2 separate regions of the Homo sapiens genome follow, and region 2 is linked to region 1. The links are contacts of gene promoters, found by promoter capture Hi-C in human tissues and cell types (Jung and others, 2019). All regions are on one chromosome and are shown on one strand. Each heading gives the region's core, a stretch centred on a gene start or on the middle of the fragment in contact. The rest is flanking DNA. Distances are from core to core; before and after follow the strand shown.

What was found. Contacts are between HindIII fragments. The study calls those that stand out against the background at their distance.
Region 2: a fragment that was not itself captured here is called in contact with the fragment with the promoter of FOXN4 in region 1 in 1 of the 25 tissues and cell types used here (lymphoblastoid cells).

What each region holds. Positions count from the first base shown.
Region 1 is chr12:109,306,504-109,311,119 of GRCh38, forward strand. It overlaps FOXN4 (forkhead box N4), which reads right to left and starts at 2,781. Exons shown (of 10, transcript NM_213596.3): 1 at 2,616-2,781; 2 at 1,733-1,821. The coding sequence starts at 1,818. It also overlaps a transcript of MYO1H not described here. The HindIII fragment of the contact is 10,264 bases long and covers 1-4,616 here.
Region 2 is chr12:107,669,170-107,673,785 of GRCh38, forward strand. No RefSeq gene overlaps it. Among named protein-coding and RNA genes, the nearest start is that of PWP1, 14 kb to the right of the region's middle. The HindIII fragment of the contact is 4,062 bases long and covers 243-4,304 here.

The sequences.
Region 1 (4,616 bases), core at 1,531-4,030:
GGCTTGCAGCTAGGAGGGCAGAAGTAGATTCACCCTGGATACATTCAGTGCCTGCTGGGTGTCAGGTGCCTTCATAGATAATATGATACATATATCATTTAACCCTCCAGAGCTAGCTTTTACTATCCCCATTGCACAAAACTATGAAAGTTCACAGGTGAATCTGCTCATAATTGGTGAATGGCAGAGCCAAAAATGATTACTAAATTGTCATAACAACTCCATGCAGTGGGTATTATTTCTATCCCCATTCTACAGATGAAGAAGCTGAGGCTCAGAGAGCTCCACGTAGCCAGAGAAGTTGGGATTATAATGGACTTGAGAGCCTAAGCTGCTAACCCTTACACTGCCACTAAATCACTTGGCATTATTTAAACCCTGAGAGTGCTGGAAGGAAGCCTAGAGGCCCTTGGCTGTGTGATCTTGGGAGAAGCCATTTCATTTTTCTAAGCCTCAGTTTCCTCACCTATACAACAGGGCTCATCAGAGCAACCTCCCGAGATGAGGTGAGTGATGGGGGATGGCACACAGTAGGTGCTTGCAAACTGCCACGTACCTGGCCCCAGCTCTGCACACAGCAGGCTCTCTGCAAATATCTGTTTGAATCTGTGTCCTCGTTTGGATCTCAGAAGGCAGCTTCCAGGCCCACAGCCCTCAGGAAGCAGCCTCCCTCTAATTGCGGGCTGCGGTCTGTCCCAGCAGGCACTCCTGGTGAGTTGCAGTGACCCCGGGGGGGCCAGACAAACCCTGGGTAAACAGGGCTGATAGGAGGTGACAGCCTGCTCTTCCCAGGCCAGCCCTGGTCCTGTCCCCATTCCGTAATCTGGACTGTGCCCCCTCAGCCTACAGACATGTTGCTTGCTCTGTCGGGGGAGCCCTGGAAACGAGGTCAGGGCTCCCTGGCCTCAAGGGGAAAGAGGCCGGGAGGGGACTCCAGGTCCTTCCTTTTCCTCCTTTTCCCTCCTGGAGACCTTGGACAAGCCCTTTCCCCTTTCTTGGCCTCAGTTTCCCCAACTGTAAAAAAAATAGGGGGTGCGCAGACTGGTTGACCTCCTAAAGGCCTTTTTGGCTATGATGTTTGAAGACAAAAAAAGACAGAAGGGCTCTGAAGGCTTCCATGCATCCTCTCAGTTGTACCTTGCTTCACCCTGTTTCAAGGCCTCAGTTTCCATCTAATTTACTCTTCAAACACATGAGGCCTAGAAGAAACCTTAAGATCATCTACTTCAACAAGATCAATTAAATGATGAGGAAGTGAGGCCCAGGGCAAAGGACTTGCTGAATGTCACACAGCCTGGCTGAGAACTTAGCATATCTGACTACTTTCTTAACATCTGTGGAGGATAGAACCCAATTCCTCCCAGAAGGTTTTTTTTTGGCAGGGGGTGGGGGAGCATTTCCCACAGCCCCCATTAAGGCCACTGGAGGGGAAGCAGTAGCTGCTATTGTCATCTTAACATTCACCAGGATGCCCAAACAGTATCAAATGCAGAAACGGACCTCTTTTGGAGGGGACAAGAGACAGCAGGCATTTCGTGGTCCCACTGGGCCAGGTTGTGGCCCAGACACCCTTAGCAAGACCAACATTGAAATCAAGACTTTCCAGCTCTCCCGCAAAAATCACAGAATTGAACATAACAATAGTTCTTGGGCAGTTTCAGAAACCATAAACAGCATACAAACACTTTGAGCAATTAAAAAATATATAGTTTGTTATTGTTGGAGCCCTCACCTGTATTCCTGTGGAGAGGGGTGGTGATTTTGCCCTGAGTTTCGAATAATTCCTGACATTATGGATGAGGTGTCACTTTCTATCATCTCCTTGGGAAAAGACAAGCAGAAAACAAAGCTCCCATCAGCGACGATATGGACAGGGCAGAAACCCACAGTTTTCCCGCAATTCAGAAAGATGGAGCACAATCAACTCACAGAACACTTTTTTTTTCTTTAAAGAAAAAAGTTCTAGAGGATTCCTGGGCATCTCAGGTCACTTTCCCAGGGCAATTCTACAGCGTTTTAGAAACAAATGAAGAGAATGAAATGAAATTCCCGGTTCTTTCGAATTAATGGGGGAAGAGCAAGGGAAGCTCTAGAATCCAAATGTCAAACCTGGAAAATGTGGACTCACAAAATAGGAATCAGAAAAACGATTTCCTTCCAAGCCTTATATTTTCAACCTCAGTTTGGTTATGATCACTTTCAAAATAAGGGGCAGCTGGATGTGACATGTGTATTTCTCTGGGGGAACAAATTCCCACTTGCAAAGGGAATAATCCCCGCAAGCTCCTGCCCTGAAATGCCTTCAGAAATGCCACAAGCCCTTACTGGAAAACCAATCCAACCACCCACGTCCCCGCAACACACAAACACTGCCTTAAAAAAATAATAAAAATATTTGAGTTCCCTAAGTTTCTCAAACTCCAAGCCTGAACCAACATAAAAGCCCACCAAAGCCTCAGTTCCGCCCCCAAAGCCATCGAAGGATTCCCAGGAAGGAGGAAAAGGGAGCAGAGGGAGGCGGCCCCGCAGCCCCTGCGCCCGGGTCTCTACCCTGGAAATGCAATGCCCGGCATTGCCCGGGAGGAGGGAGCAAAGCCGACCCTGCAAGGCGGTACCTGGAGCCGATCCTCGCGGGGCCGCCGCTGCCGGCGCTCCGGGGGTGGGCAGGGGTTCCGGAGGGGGGCTCCCTCGCGCTCGCCCCTCGCGTTCCGCAATTTGGCCGCCGTCGCAGCTCGAACCGTTTTTAAATTTCCCTCTCTGGAGCTGTCCAGCTCAGAGCATGCGCAGTAGCCGTGCGGGGGGCTTTTCCCCAAGGGTCAGTTACAGGGCAGGGTCAAGGGGATTGCAGCGGGCGTTTCCCAGCAGCCGCGAGCCTTGCACGCCCCGGGGTTCTGGGGGGGGGGTGTGTGTGAGGGGGGCGGGGCGGAGGAGTGCAGGGGTAGGGACCCCTCTTCAAACTTTGCCAACAGTGACAACAACTGCATGCCCGAGAGCATGCGTTGAGGAGCAGTGGGAGGGTGATTTCGGCCAAGGGAATTAAGTTGCAAAAGGAGGCTGGGTGCATTAAAACTTGCAATCCCGCCTGGGGCAAAGGACGTGGGCGGGCGGAGAGATCTGTTGCAACCCCCTCTCTCCCCCAAAGTGGAGGACGGGCCGGGAGGCAGAGACGGGGCCCCAGGTGGACGCGGATTCGGTCCACCTGTCCCTTTAAGAAAGTTGCGCCCGCGCGGGCTGGCGCGCAGCGGGAGGGGGCTGCGGAGCGGGGCGCGGGGCGCCTCCACCTGCTGGGGCCGCGAGGGGGGGCCCGGGCCCAGCGCGGCGGCGAGGCGAGGAGGGCTCCCCGGGACTGCGCGCTGCGCCCCCCTGTCCCGCGAGGAGGGTGAGCCCGCCCGGAGCGAGTGCGGCGGGGCTCGGCGGCCCCGGCAGCCGCGACGACGGCGACGGCGGTGGCGGTGGCGGTGGCGGCGGCGGCGGAGGCGGAGGCTGCGGCGTTCGGGGTACGGCGCCGCGAGCCCAGCGCAGCCGTTGGGGGCAGTGGCCCGCGTGTGCAACCGCGCTCCCTCCCTTCCCCGCCGCCCGGCCCGCGCCGCCGCTGCCCCGCCCCGCCTGGAGCCAGCCGCGGGAAAGGTGGCGCGGACCGCGGACGGCGGCGGGGCCCAGAGCGGGCAGAGGTCTCCACAGGCCCCTTAGGAGGCTTGGATGAGTTTGGTCCCCTGGAAAGTTTGCGTTTCTGGCGCCCTAACTCTCAAGCCTCCGTTGCAGTAATTGCCACGGCAGCAACGATATTAGGCACGGCTACCCCCATTCTTTCGTTACTTATTGACGCCTGCTTCTGGGTTCTTCTTCGCATCAGCCCTTGATGACATAGCATGGTCCTCCTTTTGCATGGGGGGAACCCAAAGCCCCGAGCGGCAGTGAGTGGGTCGGCGGCGCACGGGCAGAGCGCGGGCTCCCGCACCTCCCCAGCTCGCGTACTGCACGTGGACCTCTGCGCCGCCCCCACCGAGTGAGGCTCAGGCACCCGAAGCGTCTGGAGTTGTTTTGAGGCTGTCCTCGCGTTATCTACTTCGCAGCAGGCAGGGGACCAGTGTCCCCGCACCTGTGACTGTTTTTTTTTTTTTAAACCCAGTGTTTAAGTTCAGGAAGAACTCAGGGCTCCCCTGGACTGGGTGTGCCTGGATTTCAAGTTCTATTCAGGTGGGCTGTGACCTTGGCACTGGTCCATGTCCTCACAAATGGTTTTCTGGTAGCACCTGGACGTCCTTCCTCCTTTCTTCTCTGCCAGGAGTAAATAGATCAGCTTTCATTCTCTAGGGAGGAAAAAGATGTAGTTTACAGATGTTAGTTGAGGTCACAGTCATGAAACTTTCTCAGTTTTCATCTCCCGCGACCAGCATGTATTTAAAATGTGTGTTTTGACCGGTTAGGAAAGTGGTTTACATAGTTTATGTTGCTTTGAATGTCCCTGAATGACATATAATTAATTCACCAGTAAAGTTGTAAGCATTCAAAGCATTTGGGTTTATTTCTGTTAATCCTTCTTGGAGTTGTAAGGAAACGTGGGTGACTTGACAACCTCCTTGTGAGGTCACAGTCATTTTCATTAAGGTGTAATT
Region 2 (4,616 bases), core at 1,024-3,523, 1.6 Mb before region 1:
CCATTTTTACAGATAGGGAAACTGAGGTGGAGGCAACAAGGCTAAAAAGTGGCAGAGAGGGAATGTGGACCTAGGCTGACCTGACCTCTAAGCCCAACTCTTTGTGGTGCCTCTTCAGTTACAATGCCTCCTCTAAAGAGAGAGGGGAGAGAATAAGATGCTTCTCTCCTCTCCACTGCTTTGAAAAATATGATCAAGCCAGGCACAGTGCTCATATCTGTAATCTCAGCACTTTGGGAAGCCGAGGCAGGCGGATTGCTTGAGCCCAGGAGTTTGAGACCAACCTGGGCAACAAAGTGACACCCCGTCTCTACCAAAAAAAAAAAAAATTGGCCGGGCATCATCGTGGGTGCCTATAGACCCAGCTACTCAGGAGGCTTGAGCCCAGGAGGTGGAGGTTGCAGTGAGCCAAGATCATGCCAGGGTGAGTGACAGAATGAGACCCTGTCTCAAAAAATAATAATAATAATAAATATGATCAGCTGGGTGTGGGGGCATATGCCTGTAGTCTGAGATATTGGGAGGCTGAAGCAAGAGATTCACTTCAGCCCAGGAGTTCGAGGCCAGCCTGGGCAACATAGTGAGACCCTGTCTCTAAGACAAAAAAAAAAAAAGAGAGAAGGAGGAAGAAAGAGCTTTCTGGGCTAAGACAAATGTTAGTCATGTGTATCTGTGATGTGGTGTGATGACAGGTCTACTTGTTCTGGATGTCTTTTTTTTGGTGAGTATTGTTTGGGGGAGAAAGAAGTATTGGGTGGCGTGAGGATTCAATGTAGATGGACCAATGTTTAATGGGACTGAGGACACAGAGAGGACACAGAGCGGACACAGAGATGTGGGAGACAGGGTCCCTCAAGGTGCTCCTTGACACACAGACACAGCTTGGGGGACTTAGTTGCTGCCAAGCCAACTCTTGGCGTGACATGAGGTGGCAGGAGTGGGGACGGACGGCCACTGAGGACCCACCACCCCAGGACAGCCGGGCGCCTCTGGCAGGCAGGTCCACGGTTACTGATTGTCATGGTCAAGCTCAGCTGGGCACTGGGTCCAGAAGGAGATGTGACTGGCCCATTTTGTGTCTTTTATCTGAGCCTGCACCTTTCCTAACTCAGATTTTTTAAATACTTTTTTCTTTATACTCACTTTGTTTTTCTCTGTACTAATACACTAACTCGGATTTTTGGCTTTTATTGGGCCGAGGTCCCACCAACCTGGATGCTCAGCCTTGTTTGGTAAAGCAAGAAAAGTATCTGAGAAATGTTCCCTAAAGGCTGATTTCACCCCAAACAGTCACTCAGTGATGCGCCTCACTTACCAAGGACACACCCCCAAAAGGCATCTCCTGGCCTCCGGGTCTCACTCTGTTATCGCAGGGTGTGGTGGAGCAGGTGTGGTTGGGTGGCCACCAAGATGGATTTCAGTCTCTTTCCAGGCCCAGGGAACAAGCCGAATTCGAGAGACTTGGCTTTTAGCCTCCTGTTAGAGCCAAGAAAGACTTCAAAGACTCAACGGCTTCTAAGGCTTTTTACATCAGCAAAGTCCTGCAAAGCCTGCAAACGAAGGCTGCTTTGAGGCCTTTCATTCTAAGGACAGAGAAGGTAAATTCCATGGCCACTTTCTCCAGAGCAGCAACTGGGCTCCTTCTTTTTACTTCCATGGGGAGGACAAGAGATTCATTTGCTTTCTGTTGCTGAGAATGCTATCAAAACAAATTTTACTTTTAGCTGCAACCTTTCAAAAGCGTCTTAAGCATAAAGCACGAAAAAATCCCCAAGCTTATGTAGGCATTCTAGTTTTTTCGTGGTTGGTGTTTTTTTTTAACTGTGCCAGTTTCAGCTGAAACATGGTTCTATTGTTTCCATTTCCCACTGTACATACAGCACTGAATTCTTGGGGAGCAAAAGTACGAGGGCAGATTGAGAAACCCCAGTTCATGAGAAGTTTGTTGTTGTGGTGGTTGTTGTTTTAGCAAAGAGAGGAAATCGGTAAATAGCTCTGATGTTGAGACAGCAGGAGGTCAGGACATTGAGCAACGTGCAGGTGGGGTTGTGGACTCAGGGCTGAGCGGCAGGGGGCGCTCCTCCCAGTGCAAGCCTTCAGAAACACCAGCCTTGAGTTGGACGGTTCTGGCTCATTGTGTGGAGTCCTAAGTGGTCACACTCCACACTCCTAAGTGGTCTGGTCACACAGTTGTTTTAAAGAAGGGTAATGGCTCATTAGGTAGATTTGGGTAGGATGCAGCTTGAAGTGGGGCGTAAAATCCTTTCATTGTCCAATGGGGAGGTCACAGTGCAGCAGCTACTCCTTGTACTTGGAATGAGGGAAACAGCGTAATCTAGACTTGAACACGGGCTCAGGAACCAGGAGCGCCAGCCACAGATCTCACTCACTCTCACTGTTGTTTGCAACTTTGGGCAAGTCAAGTAACTTCTCTGCTGGATCACTGCTTCTCCAACTGTGTGAGCATTTGTAGCTTTTTCCCAAATAAGTACTCTACTTCCTGGCTTTCCAAAGTGGAGCCGGACAGTCGCTTCTGCATCATTGGGAGTTTGTTGGCAATGCAGAATGTCAGCCTCGATTCCAGACCTACTACATGGAATCTGCATTTTAACCAGAGGCCCAGTGCTGAGCACACTGAGGTCTGAGAAGGACTGCTCTGTTCTCCCAGGTCACTGCAATGGTATCAGGTTCTTCTGTTCCTCTCTCTCAGAGGATACTTGAAATGATGCCTGAAAAAAAAGACAATCTAGGCCAGGCATGGTGCCTCATGCTTGTAATCCTAGCCCTTTGGGAGGCCAAGGCGGGAGCATCACTTCAACCCAGGAGTTTGGGACAAGCCTGGATAACATAGTAAGACCCCATCTCTACAAAAGAATAAAAAATTAGCTGGGTGTGGTGGTGCACACCTGTAGTCCCAGCTACTTGGGAAGCTGAAGTGGGAGAAGTGGGGAGGATTGCTTGAGCCTGAGAGGTCGAGGCTGCAGTGAGCCATGATCGTACCACTGCACTCCAGCCTGGATGACACAGCGAGACTCTCAAAAAAAAAAAAAAAAAAAAGATCATCTATATATATGGTCAGGACTCAGGTAAGATCCTTAAGATGTCTTTGTATTCATCTGTAATAAGTCATTTTAAGAACTCCATGTTCTCTGAGGCATTTTCTGAAAGTCATTTGTGCACCCATCTATTGCCAATGATTTCTCCTCTCACTAGAGGTGTGAGATGTTTTTCAAACCCGCTATGAATTTCTGTTAAATTACCTTACCCATTAGATGTTTTTTCACCCTGCTGTCTCTCACCAGGGGAACGCTGTGAAAAAGCTTTAGAACACTGTGCAAGCAATCATCCTTTCCAGCCACCTGTTTCTGCTGACAACTTTATGAATAGCTTCTTTACCAATCATTAGACAAAAACCATTCCATTCTGGAGAATGATGACACAGAAGGTTAAGGGCTTTTTCTAAAAGCACATACACATGTGTGAGGTTTGCCAAAACCAGCTTGTGCCCAAAGTAGGACAGATGGGCCACTAAGGGGAAAGAGCAGAGAAAGGGATTCAAGAGAAGGAAGTTTTTGTAAGGCTTGTGCTATAGACTGAGTGACTGTATTCCCCCAAAATTCATAATCATCAATGTGATGGTATTAAGAGACAGGGTGTTTGGGAGATGCGTAGTCATGACAGGGTAGCCCACATGAATGAGATTAGTGCCCCTATAAAAGAGACACCAGAGAGCTCCCTCACCCCTTCTGCCATGTAAGGACACAGTGAGAAGACAGCAGTCTATGAACCAGGAAGCAGGCTCTCACCAGATACTTCATCTGCTGGTGCCTTGATGTTGGACTTCCCAGCTCCAGAACCATGACAAATAAATTGTTGTTTAAGCCACCCAGTCTATGGCATTTTTGTGAGAGCAGCCCAGATGCATTAAGACAGCTTAAAGGGGGCCTTCTGAATGGTACATCTAGGGGGCAAAAGTCACAATTTGAAATGTCTTCCTTAGAAATGTCCTCTGAGAATATAAAAGTAATAATAAGAAATCGATTTTTACAGAATGCCCCAAACTCCTAAGATTTCAGCCTTTAGGTTATGTCCCTGTCATCATATTAATGAAACATGACTTTTTCAGTAGTACAAAGAAGTGTTTCTTTTCACCCAAAGGAGACCGTGGTCCTGTCTACAACATGGCATGAAGGAGGACTGATCAATTATCCAGATAATACAAGGCCAACCTCTCCCCGCCAACACCACTACCACTATACACAACATCATCACGGCCTTCGCTAAAGTATCAGACCAGGGGAGACTAATCACATTACTTGGACAAAGTTTAGCAAACTACCTGCCTCATGAATCCTTCTATTTATTCTGTGGCAGTGGTTCTCTACTGGGGAAGATTTGGCAATGTCTAGAGACGTGTTTGGTTGTCACAGCTGGCAATGGGTTGCTACTATTGGGCAGAGGCAAGGGATGCTGCTGGACATCCTACACTGTGTGGGACAGTCTCTACAACCCAGAATTCTCCAGTCCCAATGTCAGTAGTGCTGAGGTTAAGAAGCTCTGTTCTGGGAGATGGGGTTGAGCCTCCATTCACTGCAAAGCAAAGGAACATTCACAGC